2 separate regions of the Homo sapiens genome follow, and region 2 is linked to region 1. The links are contacts of gene promoters, found by promoter capture Hi-C in blood cells and fetal thymus (Javierre and others, 2016). All regions are on one chromosome and are shown on one strand. Each heading gives the region's core, a stretch centred on a gene start or on the middle of the fragment in contact. The rest is flanking DNA. Distances are from core to core; before and after follow the strand shown. Region 1 holds the start of GNAI3 (G protein subunit alpha i3). Region 2 holds the start of UBL4B (ubiquitin like 4B).

Region 1 (6,332 bases), core at 644-3,143:
CTGTAGGAGTGGATCATGAAGGAAATAAAAATTTCTCTTTTATTATGCTGAGAACTTTCCCAACAATTTCTGCTATGACCACCTTCCAGGAGTTTTCTAGTCACCAGATGCCTTGGTAAAGTTCAATACGTAATCTTTGGCTCTGAAAGCTGTTCCTGGACAAAATCTGAGCTAACTCACTGAAGAATCAACAGATTGAGGCAACCATCCGGTCAGTTACTTTTTCCTGCATCCTGCTGGTGTTGGGGTAACTCCCAATCCTAGATGAAAACCTTAGACTTTCTGTTGTCAGGTGTCCCCAGGCAATATCCTACGGGGGCATGATAGAAAAGGGTAACTCTGGGGTCAGATAGATGTACTTACTCACTGTGTGAAGTTGGGAAAGCTGCTTAATTTCTCTGAGCCTACTTCCTCACCTGTAAAAATGGGGATCATTATTACCTACCTCACAGGGTTGTTGTGAGGATTAAGAGATGGGATGTGGGAGCACCTAGCCGTATCTGGCAAATAGGTACTCAATAAATACTGGTTTTACTTCCCTTTCCTCTTGCCCTTTTTCCCCAAAAGTATTGATAATGGAAAAGCAGTCCCTTTCATTCTTAACAGTCATTTGGGAATGACTGGGGGACTTTTCAAACCTTGAAGAATTGGCATTGCTAAGAGTTAAGGTGGACGAGGCTTTTTAAGGTGGCTCTAATCCTCTAATTAAATCCTTCTAATTAATGAATCATCACTATATAAACCTCTCTGTTGGGACCTTACTTTCTCAAGTTCAGATTCTATTAGAGAAATAAATTTACAATCACAGGGAAAGGTTTTAGGGACTGAGTTCCCTTCGCTAGAACGTATAGTAATTGTGGGCTTATTTGCCTGAAAAGTTGATTTAGGACTACCTTCACGCAGTATCCAGGGTTATTAGTGAAAGATGCTATCTGCCTGGGACTTTCACAGTGGACTTAAGTTTCAGGTGATACTAGGGCTGAGAGGCAAATTTTACTAGAACCTCTCCTTTTGCATGTTATCGCAACAGGAAATTTTAGTAGGAGATTCACAGGATGCACTGGTTTGTTTCGGGGTGTGGAATTGAAGTTGACTTATCTTGGTTTTAGTTCTAAGACCCTAAGGTAGGAAGATCTGAATTATACTGGAGAGAAGGGCAGCATGGAAATTTTATGGAGGAACTACAGGCTTACCTTTCAGGTTATCGAGTATCTGCTAGCGATTTCAAGTGGCCTTTTGCCAATATAGGAGTTAAGCAAATCTCAAGCCCACAGAAATACGTGAATAGCAAAAGGACCAGGGGACATTTTGAGAGGAGTCAGTGGGCCAGAGACGGCAAAAAGTTATTGCTGAGGTCCTAAGCACAGTCGGTGTTACGATCTCAGATGTGAGACGTGAACGGCGCCCAGGCCGGATAGCTTGTTCCCATTCCATTGATCTGAGATAACCCCAACGGAGGCAGTGTCCCATACTTGGGTAGGGGTCCCGAGTCTCCACAGCCAGAGATCAAAGGAGTTTTCTGGCAGGCGAGAAATTACCAGCAGATATTCCCGCGCGGGATGTAGGCTTTAATTTAGAAATCTCCGCCCCAAAACTGGCATCTTGAACGCGGGAGGGCATTATGAGTTAGAGGCCCCGGTTTTTCTCCATTTATCCAAATCAGGTAGCCGAAAGGTAAATGAGGCTTCAAGTTGGGCGGCGGGCAGCGAACTTGACAGAACCTCGAAACTCTGCAGATCCGCCGCCCAACCCAGCCGCCAGCTCCCCGTGACTTCCGCTTTCGGTCTCAACTCCTCTCCCTGAGGAGAGTGGTTTAAACGGTGAAGGCTGCGGGGCGTCGCCGGAAGTGTCGTAAACGTCGGATATCCGGTTCTTCTGGGCGCTAAGGGAGCTGACGGAGAGGGCCACCGCCCAGCAATAGACGGTGCCTCAGCCTGCCGAGCCGCAGTTTCCGTGGTGTGAGTGAGTCCGGGCCCGTGTCCCCTCTCCCGCCGCCGCCATGGGCTGCACGTTGAGCGCCGAAGACAAGGCGGCAGTGGAGCGAAGCAAGATGATCGACCGCAACTTACGGGAGGACGGGGAAAAAGCGGCCAAAGAAGTGAAGCTGCTGCTACTCGGTGAGGGGCTGGAGGCGGGGACTGAGTGGTGGTCGGGAGAGCCTAGGCGCTTGGAAGGCCTGAACGGGGTCTGGTCGGGCCGACGGAAAGGACCCTAAAGGGATCTGGAGGGCGTGCCGGGCGTGGGGCGGGGTGTTGGGGTTCCTAGCTGAGGCCCCAGAGGGCGTGATGAGGGGGGTGGGGTTTTGGGGTTGCGGGAATTAGGCTGTAGAGGGTGTGACTCCGGGCTAGAATTGCGTTTAGCAGAGAGACTTGGGAGTATGGGCCGGTAGATGTTGAGGGAGTAGGAATATGGGAAAAGCTCATAAAGGAAGAGTTGATACTAGGAAGGTTTTACGTTGGGTTGGAGCGTGTTGGTAACGAGAACGGCATAGAGTATATGTTGGGCTTGTATAATGGTTTGTGAGTTTGGAGCGTCGTGGTTCTTTGGCAGGATAAAGCTAGCAGGCTTGAATGGATGGTACAGAGACTGGAACAGAATGGTCACATAAGGACGTTGACATTTGTTAGTAAGAGAGCCATTTGAACTGTTGGAAGAACCCTGGATTATCCAGGAACATGAAGATAGGTAGGTGAGATAAATGACAAGTTATCAGGTATAAAGGAAAAGAGCTTGGGTGCAGAGGCCATCTCTACTTTTCCACCGTTTCCTATCATTTTTATTTTCAAAGTTTTATAACGTCTTCTTCTGTTTTTACAAAAGGATGGGAAATGGTGTGAGCTGAAGAAATTTAAAGAATGATTTCTTTGAGGTTTGTAGCAGAAGATCTAGTGAACAAGAGATTACACATTGGAGGATGCTGAATAGTTGCTATAGATGATGTGTAGTTGGAATAGTTACCTTAGGATAAGTTACAGAGTTGGACATATTCACTGTAAAGACTATGGTAGACTTCTGGTGGCTGTTTTATCCTTTTTGGCCTCTTCAAAGCAAAACCATTGACTTCAGGAATTACTGTTTATGTTATTTGATAGTCGTTTTAATTGGCTTTTTTTAAACACAGTCGGATGTATTTTACTCAACATGAGTTTCAAAATTTTTGAGAGGCTCAGTAAATCATACAAAGAATACTGGCATTAGCTTACTAATAAATCAAGCCACATTTCTTCATTATTAGTGAAGATTTTCTAGGGTAGTATTTCCATTATTTTCCAATATTTTCTAGGGTAGTATTTCCATTAGAGAAGAATAAGTAGGAGTAGGGGTTTCTACAGAAACCCTTACAAGCAATAGAAATTTACTTTTTAAAACAATTGATTTTTGAGGAAAAGGAGTCACTTTAGGGGAAATGCTAAATTTTCATGGTATAAAGCTCCAGAGAACAGAATGTACACTGTAACCCAAGACTTATTTTGTACATTCTAAGTGCCCCTGTTAGTCTCTTCGTGTGAACATATTTGGTTGGTTGTAGATTGCAGAAGCTCTGGTAATAGCTTTTTTGAATATACTATAAAGGGAAAGTTATGTATTGGAGCTTAAGGTTCCGGTTTGTATACCTGAACTTTCAGAAGATGCGAGTTCAAATTGTAGTTCTAGACTGCGACTGTCTGTATAACAGGTGGATATGCATGGTCCCTGGTACCTAGTAGGTGCTCCTTAAATATTTACTGTTAACCAGCCTGAGCCAGCAAATGTTGAACACTGGTCCTTGGGGCCTTTGAGAAATTTGATATAAACTATAACATTCAGGGCGTTAACTTTTTTTTTTTTTTGAGACGGAGTCTCCCTCTGTTGCCTAGGCTGGAGTGCAGTGGCGCGATCTCGTCTCACTGCAACCTCCACCTCTCGGGTTCACGCCATTCTCCTGCCTCAGCCTCCCAAGTAGCTGGGACTACAGGCGCCCGCCACCACGCCTGGCTAATTTTTTGTATTTTTAGTAGAGACGGGGTTTCACCGTGTTAGCCAGGATGGTCTCAATCTCCTGACCTTGTGATCCACCCGCCTTGGCCTCCCAAAGTGCTGGGATTATAGGCGTGAGGCCACCGTGCCTGGCCAGCATTTTCTTTATTGATCGATTGGTTATGAAAGTAAAGATGTATTCTCATCTTCTGTGAGTGATTTGATTTACACTGACCAACAGAGATACCCTTAGGACATCAGTTTATTGTAATGTAGTTGGAAACTTTGAGACTTTCTTCCAAAATGCAGGATTAGGCAGGCAGAATTTGGATAGGCGGAACTTGTCCAGATGTCTAGAAGAATTTTTGTTCAGGATTTTATCTGTAGTGCATTTAATTAAAAACAAAATTAGACACTTGACTTAGGGAACTTGAAAAGCAGTAAGTAAAAATCAAAGTACTAAACATATTTGCTTTTAATTTTTACCAACTTCATTCTTTTTTAAGTAAGATTTTTAAAATATTCTTGAGCAAGTTAAATCCACAAATTCAAATAGGTTGCAGAAACATATGTTCTTGCTTGAGCCATATCATAACACACATAGGAAATTAAAATTATCTTCTATGCTATTTCTATAAGCAAAATGTACCCAAAACAGTATACAGTTTTCTTTTTCCTGGATAATGTCTCCTTTGCTGTAGATGCAAGTCATTTTTACTTTATCACTATGGAACTTAGTTTAAGTTGAGATCTATCTACTTACCCTGTGTCTCCTGACACATGATATATTTTCTTTCTTATGGGGGTGTAGTTTAACATGGTGATTAATAGCATGGGTCCTGAAGTCAGACTGCTTTAAATCCTAATTCCCATTTACTAGTTATAGCCTTGGGAAAGTTAATTTCTCTTGGCCTCAGTTTTCTTATCTTTAAAATGGAGAAAATAGAGCTACTCCTAGGATTGCTGTGAGGATTAAATATGGTAATAATGTAAAGCAGAACACAGCTTGGCACATAGTACTAGCTCCATGAAGATTAGCTATTCTTATTAAGTCAAAATGAATGTTACAGATTGTAGGTATTATGGAAATTATACCAAATTAAGCAGCTAGTGTGGGCCAGATTATTTACAGACACTTCAGTATTGTAATTCTTCCTTTGATAACCTTTGGTTTGAATTTCATTTAGATGTTCTTGGAAAGGGCTGGGCGTGGTGGCTCCTGGCTGTAATCCCATCACTTTGGGAGGCCGAGGCTGGTGGATCACCTGAGGTCAGGAGTTCGAGACCAGCCTGGCCAACATGGCGAAACCCCATCTCTACTAAAAGTACAAAAATTAGCCGGGCGTGGTGGTGTGCACCTGTAGTCCCAGCTACTTGGGAGGCTGAGGCAGGAGAATCGCTTGAACCCGGGAGGTGGAGGTTGCAGTGAGCAGAGATGACGCCACTGCACTCTAGCCTGGGTGACAAAGTGAGACTCTTTGTCTCAAAAAAAAAAAAAATAAAGTGTTCTTGGGAAGATCTTGGTATATCAAATTAGTGTTTAATTATGACATTCTATTGAAAAAATACCATGCAAAGCTTCCCAACCAATGTTCCAGTGCTTAGGATGGCATATAGGTGTGCTGTTTACAAATTTTTTATAGCATTGAAATTTTAAATCATTTTTATAAGTTCAAACTTTTACAACAGTTGAAATTACATTTGAACATCTTTGGTATGATTTCCTCTTGTATAATTCATGAATTTGGTAATTTGGTTATTTACTATTTAAACAATTAGAGATGGGGGTCTCATTATGTTGCCCAGGCTGGTCTCAAATGCTTGGCCTCATGTGATTCTCCCATCTCAGCCTCCCAAAGTGCTGGGATTACCAGTGTGAGCCACTGTGCCTACCCTACCATGAATTTGGTAATTTGAAAAAATTTTATTTGGTATAAATACTAAATTTATACCAATTTAATATTTAATATCATTTGTAATACTTTGTATTTTTTTCATGCCATAATTTCATAATAAGAAATTTTGTGTGTGCGGGTTTTGTTTTTGTTTTTTTTTGACCCCAGGGCAAGCAAGAAAATTTTTTTTCACCAAGCTCTTTCAGCTCACCCCAATGAGCCTTACAAATATTTTTAATGTGTGCCATCATGTGACAAAGGTTGGGAAGCACTGGTATAATGGATAAGAGCACTGCTTTTGGATTCACACAAAACTGAATTTAAGTTCTACCTCCACTTATTAGCTCTGAGACCCAGAGCAAGTAACTTAACCATAAGAATAATAATTTTTACATATGTAAAGCAGAGATGATGTTTCATAATATGAAATGAGATAATGCATGTAAAATGCTTCACATTAGTGCCTAGCAAATAAAAAAT
Region 2 (6,332 bases), core at 1,225-3,724, 560 kb after region 1:
GGACTGGTGGAGGAGATGAACTATGGGCTGGAGGGAGTTGACAGCCTGAACCGGTGGGCAGTGGGGATGCAGAGGAGGAGGAGTGGGTTTCGGAGACATTTTCAGGGAAGAAGGGAAATAACAAGGGGGCTCATTTAGTGGGGGAAAGGAGAGGAGGAAGGAAGTGAGGAAGGGACGGAAGGTCAGGGAATTCCTGACTTGTGAGCTCTAGTTTCCCTATGGACTAGAATATGAGTCACCCGGCAAGAGTGAACATGGGGCTGGGGTGAGGGGTGAGGGCTTGCTGAGTCTGTGGCATCTATGGATATTTCTTTTCTTCTTCTTCTTTTTTTTTTTTTCTGAGACAGAGTCTCGTTCTGTCACCCAGGCTGGAGTGCAGTGGAGTGATCTCGGCTCACTGCAACATCTGCCTCCCGGTTTCAAGCGATTCTCCTTCCTCAGCCTCCCGAGTAGCTGGGATATTAGGTGCGCGCCACCACGCCCGGCTAATTTTTGTATTTTTAGTAGAGACGGGGTTTTACCATGTTGGTCAGGCTGATCTTGAACTCCTGACCTCACGATCTGCCCGCCTCAGCCTCCCAAAGTGCTAGGATTACAGGCATGAGCCACCGCGCCCGGCCCCATGGGTATCTTCACCAGCTGCTCTTGGCTGCCAGCTTCCAAAGACAGGGACAGAGCTTGCAGCCACCTTTGGGCGGAGTTCAGGGCTGGGTGCTGTGGAAGGGCAGTTCAGGAAAGTCCAAGGATGTTGACAACAGCATCATGCCACTGTAGCTTCCAGGCAGGTGGAAAAGGAAAGGAGGTTAGGTGGGAGGGAGGGAGAAGGTGAGTGAGAAGAAGGGCACAGTCGAGCACAGAGCTGGTGAGAGTTGAGGGGATCCCTGACAAAATCAGCCCACTGGCTGCGAGACGTTATTCAGGTCTTCTCCAAAGTTGCTCAGTTCTAAAATGAGACAATACTTTCCTCCCAGGCTAAATTGTGACAACATATATAAAGGGCTTGACCCAGAAGGCCTTCAGCAATGTGTTGCACTGAAAACTGCCAAATGCTGCAGAAGTTGCAGACACAGAGGAGGCCCAATCAGTGTCCTTTTTCATATTCACCTTTGAGCCGGGGGTGCCTGCTCAGGGCCTGGGCCACAAAAGGCACTGAGCAGAGATTTGTTTAGGAGGCAACATGAGGTAACAGTGAAGACAAGAGCAATTCTGCCTGCTTGCTGTAGGATCAGCCAAGCCTCCACTTTCTCCTCTGGCAGATGGAGATCATGGCAGTGCCTGCCTCATAGGTTGAGAGGATTCAATTAGGCAGGCCTGTGATGCAGATGCTGTGGGCTGTCCTGCCCCATCCCCTCAGCACTCACATTCCTGAGGGCCCGATGGCTTCCTACTTTTCTGTGGTCACAGGAGCATGCTGCTTAACACCTGTGGACCAGAAGTGCCAAGGAGGTAGCACTTCTATTAGCCAAAGACAGGAGTCAGAGCATAAAGATGCAGGTTCGGCCAGGTGCGGTGGCTCACGCCTGTAACCTCAGCACTTTGGGAGGCCAAAGCAGGCAGATTGCTTGTGTCTGGGAGTTTGAGATCAGCCTGGGCAGCATGGAGAAACCCATCTCTACTAAAAATACAAAAATTAGCCAGGCATGGTGGCGTGCAGCTGTAGCCCCAGTTACTTGGGAGGCTGACACAGGAGAATTACTTGAACCCAGGAAACGGAGGTTGCAGTGAGCCGAGATCATGCCACTGCACTCCAGCCTGGGCAACAGAGTGAGACCCTGTCTCAAAAAACAAAAAAAAAAACAAAAAAACCACACCTGGTGCAACTCAGGTGTGTTCCATGCAACCTCCCAGAACTCCCCAGCAGGATAACATACTAGTTGCCCACAATGGCAACCTGCTCATGAATGCACGTTTTGATTTCCCTCCCGTCCTCATCTCACATCCTCACTCCCCTCCTGGTGCCTCCTGGGATCACCTCCTAATTGAGTACTTGTTCTCAAATCCCTGTCTCAGTGTCTGCTGCTGGAAAGCCCAATCCAAAAGAGCGTGTAAAGTGCTTGACAGAAAGAGGACGCTTGATAAATGCTAGCCAGCTCACTAGTGTGAAAGTGTCATGAAGGCAGAAGTCATCCATCTGAATATGACTGTCTCCCCAGGTCCAGGTGCTGGCACAGAGGTGGCACCTAATACACATGTGTTGAAGAAATCAATAGACATGCTCCTCCCACCACCCTGTCCTTTCCCTCCCTCCCTTTCCCTAGTCTCACTCTCATTTCCCCCAGTCCCACATTTTCTTTCCTAGTGCTCTTTTTCTCCTCTCGTGGAGGAAGGATGCTCTGGGCCCAAATACCCCTTTGCTGTCCCAAAAGTTCCACTCTGGAAATGAGCCCCCCCGCAGCATTGTGACATCACCGTGCACTAGCCAATGGCTGCCTGCCTAAGCTGGGTCCCTGGTCTCCTGGGACTACTAGCCCTTTGTTGATAGGGAGAAGCCAACATCTCCCGCAGGACCCCCTAATCTTCAGGGCAGCTCCCAGAGCATGGATCCCTCCTGATTCCACTCAGCCCGATGTTCCTCACAGTCAAGCTGCTCCTGGGCCAGAGATGCAGTCTGAAGGTGTCAGGGCAAGAGAGTGTAGCCACGCTGAAGAGACTGGTGTCCAGGCGGCTGAAGGTGCCTGAGGAGCAGCAGCACCTGCTTTTCCGTGGCCAGCTCCTGGAGGATGACAAGCACCTCTCTGACTACTGCATTGGGCCCAATGCCTCTATCAATGTCATCATGCAGCCCTTGGAGAAGATGGCGCTAAAGGAGGCCCACCAGCCGCAGACCCAGCCCCTGTGGCACCAGCTGGGACTGGTCCTAGCTAAACACTTTGAACCACAGGATGCCAAGGCCGTGCTGCAGCTGCTAAGGCAGGAGCACGAGGAGCGCCTGCAGAAGATAAGCCTGGAGCACCTGGAGCAGCTGGCCCAGTACCTCCTGGCAGAGGAGCCTCACGTGGAGCCAGCTGGAGAGAGGGAGCTTGAGGCGAAGGCACGGCCTCAGAGCTCCTGTGACATGGAGGAGAAGGAGGAGGCAGCAGCTGATCAGTAAACGGGCCATCCTACCCATTTGCATGCTAAAATTCTCCCGGCCTCATCCTTACGTGTTCCCTGGTGACTTTTCCTACTACTTCCTGCTGATGTGGATGCGTCCACACCCCTTTTTGAACCTTCCAAGCAGCTGGAGGGTTTTTGGATCCCTGTCCCCTCTTGGGCCTGAGGTCCTCCCTCTGAAATGCAGAGTGAACCAACCCTCATCACCATGCTTCCCCTAGAAGGGTTCTGATCACCGGAGGGCAGCCCCAAAGGCCACAGTCCCCTCCTGTGCTGGCAGCTTTGCCCACACATACCCAGCAGCTCCCCAGGCTGAAAGCAGCCCTGGCCCAGGGTCTCCATGGTTCTAGGCAGACCCTCTTTCTCCTTCGGGACAGAAAGACAATGTGAGTTCATTTTCCTCCATCCTCAGACCGTGACATCTCCCCTAGGCTCCCCAGCAGCCAAGAGGAGAGGAATGTCAGGTAGCTGCCCCTTGCCTTCTGGGTGAGGCTGCCCCTGCTGTTCTCCTGCTTGTGCTTCCAGCTTAAGGGACAGGCACAGCAGAGGTGAGAGTGGGAGGAGGGCACGTACCGGGTGCCAGCCCTGGAGCCCTCAGGGAGACAGACACAGACCAAGAATAGCAGGAAACTGAGCCTCAGGCAGAAAAAAAGTTCAGCAAAGTCATACACTCCCTGTGGCCAGCGTGAACAGAGCCATGCCCCACCCTCCCAGACTGATCAGTCAGTAGGTATCACAGCTCACATTACCTGCCCAGCGCTGCCCAAGGCTCCCTGGAAGGAAAAATGGTATCTGTCAATGAGGATCCTTGCCCTCACAGAGCACGCAGCCTAGATGCAGAGAGCTGCTATACATGTGAAAAGTAAAGTGGTGACATGAAACTAGAGTCTAGTGTGTGTGACTGAATGCACGGGGCCTCACGGGGCCCTGGGTTCAGCATAGAGGGGCCAGTCCCCTGCAGACTACGAGGAAAGCCAGGCCCTTTACTCTGTTCTTTGAGTGAGAGAGTGGCCCTTGCAGAGGCTGAGGAGTCCCCACACTCTGTGTGTGAGTGGGAGGGAGTGGGGAGCTGTGGTCCCCCATTCACTGCTGAAGCCCCTGAAATGCTGTTATTGCAAAAGTTTCAGTCCTGAGTGATGGGGATGGAGGGAAGGGGTGGAGGAGAATGTCTTGAACAAGCAGGGCCCCCTTCCCTAGGAAGCATCCTGTCCTTGGCCTGCAGGGCCCCTCATCCTCTCTTCCAGTCCGAGTCCAGCTGTGTGGCCATGGGTAACCTGCTTTTCCTGTCTGATGCTCAGGTTTCCCACCTGTTGCATGGGCATCCTTATAACAGCATCTACTTACCCCATGAGTGTTGGTGACGGTTAGAGGCAAAGACTGTCCAACTGGGAGGGATGTCTTCTAGTGGTGGGCTCAGCGGCAGTGACAAGGATGGATGTGGAAAGCATTCTGTTTGTGGGAGCCTGCTTAGCAGTGGTCATTCCCTCACCTCGCAGAATAAGACAACCTCGTTCAGCTTATGACCCAGCTCCTTTCCCAGTGCCCCACCCACTGTCCCAGCCAAGAGAGCAAACTAGGGGCTCTGAGGAGACTAATGACCTCTCCCTGGGGTACCAAGGACCCAGCACGCACTGGCTGCAGCCAGCACTCCCAGGCTGGGGTTTAGGGGGCTCAAGCCTGCTCCTTGGTTCCTGTCCTGGTCCTGCTCCTGGGCCCTGCATCCTCAGCAGGGGAGCCCTCTTGACAGTTCTGTGAGTGTTTTCATGCTGGGGCTGTACCATTTGCCAAGGGAGATGAGCCTATTATCTTTACATTAGGGGAACTAATAGCCCATTTCCCAGGAAATCCGTGAGCGATAAAAATAAGTGGGCCGTTTTATTCCTTTTACTGAGAGAAGCTGGCATGAAGGACAGGGGAAGCCTTTGTTTTCTCTCTAGTTAGTGGGAGTATCAGGGCTGGCTGAGAGCAGGCCAGGGGAGGCAGCCACCTCCACTGTCTGTCCCCAGCACTGCAGGGGAGGATGTCTCCAATCCCAAACGGGGAAGAAGGAAAGTTGGTCTGCTCTTCCATGCACCTCCCACTACCGACTTCCCCCATCCCAAGGGCCCTCCTGCCCCTGTTCCTCCCTTCAAAAGCAGGAGAGAATGCACTGTCACTTGGAACTTAGCAGGAACTTGCACCTATTTGTCACCACTCCCAGGAATGGTCTTACTCAGTGCTGTGTTTCTCAATGTGGGGTGACAGGCATTGTCCCCTAAAGGATGTTGTTATAGTCATCAGAGAACAGAAGTTAGGAGTGTATTTGAGGGGCTGGGGCAGGATCAACCCCTAATACTCCAGCGATGGGTTTGGATCTCATCTGTGTTGAGAACACTAGCTCTTGGGCTGCCTGCCATGGGACCCCTCACTTTGCCTAGTTTTGCCCTATTTCAAACTGAAGCCTGTACCAGTGCACCTGTTGAAGGCTCCCTATTTCCTCTCTGCTTCGCTAGGGAGAAGGCACTTTTTCTAAACTTCAGCCTTGGGCAGAAACTCTTTCCCCTAACTCCCCACGGCATCTCTCCCCTACCTACCTACAGGTAACAATTTTGCTCATGTTGGGGGCATTTCAGGACAGCCACCACATCCAGTAGCCAGCTTCGTGTTTCTATCCACAGAGAAATCTAGCTTCTCATCCCAGCTTCTTCCTGGGTCACCTGCAGGCCAACACCCCTCAGTCCACTGGTCCATGGCAAAATAGTCTTTCTGATAGAAATAGGCAGAGCATCCTGGTCCATGTGCTATTTAGTCAGTCCTTTGCTTTTCGATCAATAAACATATATGGGCCTCTGTCTCAGTCTGTTTGTGCTGCTATAACAAAATACCTTAGACTGGGTAATTTACAAACAACAGAAATTTATCATTTACAGTTCTGAAGGCTGGGGTTTCCAAGAGGAGGGTGCCAGCAGATGTGGTGTCTGGTGAGGACCTGTTCCTCACTGACAACGCCTGCTGTGTTTCCTCACATTGCAGAAGGACAAACAGGCTCCTTGCAGTCTTTTTTTTTTTGATAGGGTCTCCCTCTGTCACCCAGGCTGGGGTGCAGAGGCGCGATCTCAGCTCACTGCAGCCTTGACTTCCCAGGCTCAGGTGATCCTCCCACCTCAGCCTCCCGAGTAGCTGGGACTACAGGTTCACACCACCACACCCAGCTAATTTTTGTATTTTTTGTAGAGACAGGGTTTCACCACATTGCCCAG

The links. Contacts are between HindIII fragments. The CHiCAGO score rates a contact against its expected background, and 5 or more counts as called.
Region 2: a contact is called between the fragment with the promoter of UBL4B here and the fragment with the promoter of GNAI3 in region 1, in 1 of 17 cell types (M0 macrophages). The highest score is 5.9, in M0 macrophages.

What each region holds. Positions count from the first base shown.
Region 1 is chr1:109,546,722-109,553,053 of GRCh38, forward strand. It overlaps GNAI3 (G protein subunit alpha i3), which reads left to right and starts at 1,894. Exons shown (of 9, transcript NM_006496.4): 1 at 1,894-2,117. The coding sequence starts at 2,000. It overlaps GPR61 (G protein-coupled receptor 61), which reads left to right. Exons shown (of 2, transcript NM_001393907.1): 2 at 1-539. RefSeq lists enhancers at 1,421-1,480, 2,011-2,180. The HindIII fragment of the contact is 6,158 bases long and covers 1-5,533 here.
Region 2 is chr1:110,109,969-110,116,300 of GRCh38, forward strand. It overlaps UBL4B (ubiquitin like 4B), which reads left to right and starts at 2,475. Exons shown (of 1, transcript NM_203412.2): 1 at 2,475-3,979. The coding sequence starts at 2,567. The coding sequence ends at 3,091. The HindIII fragment of the contact is 8,258 bases long and covers 1-6,332 here.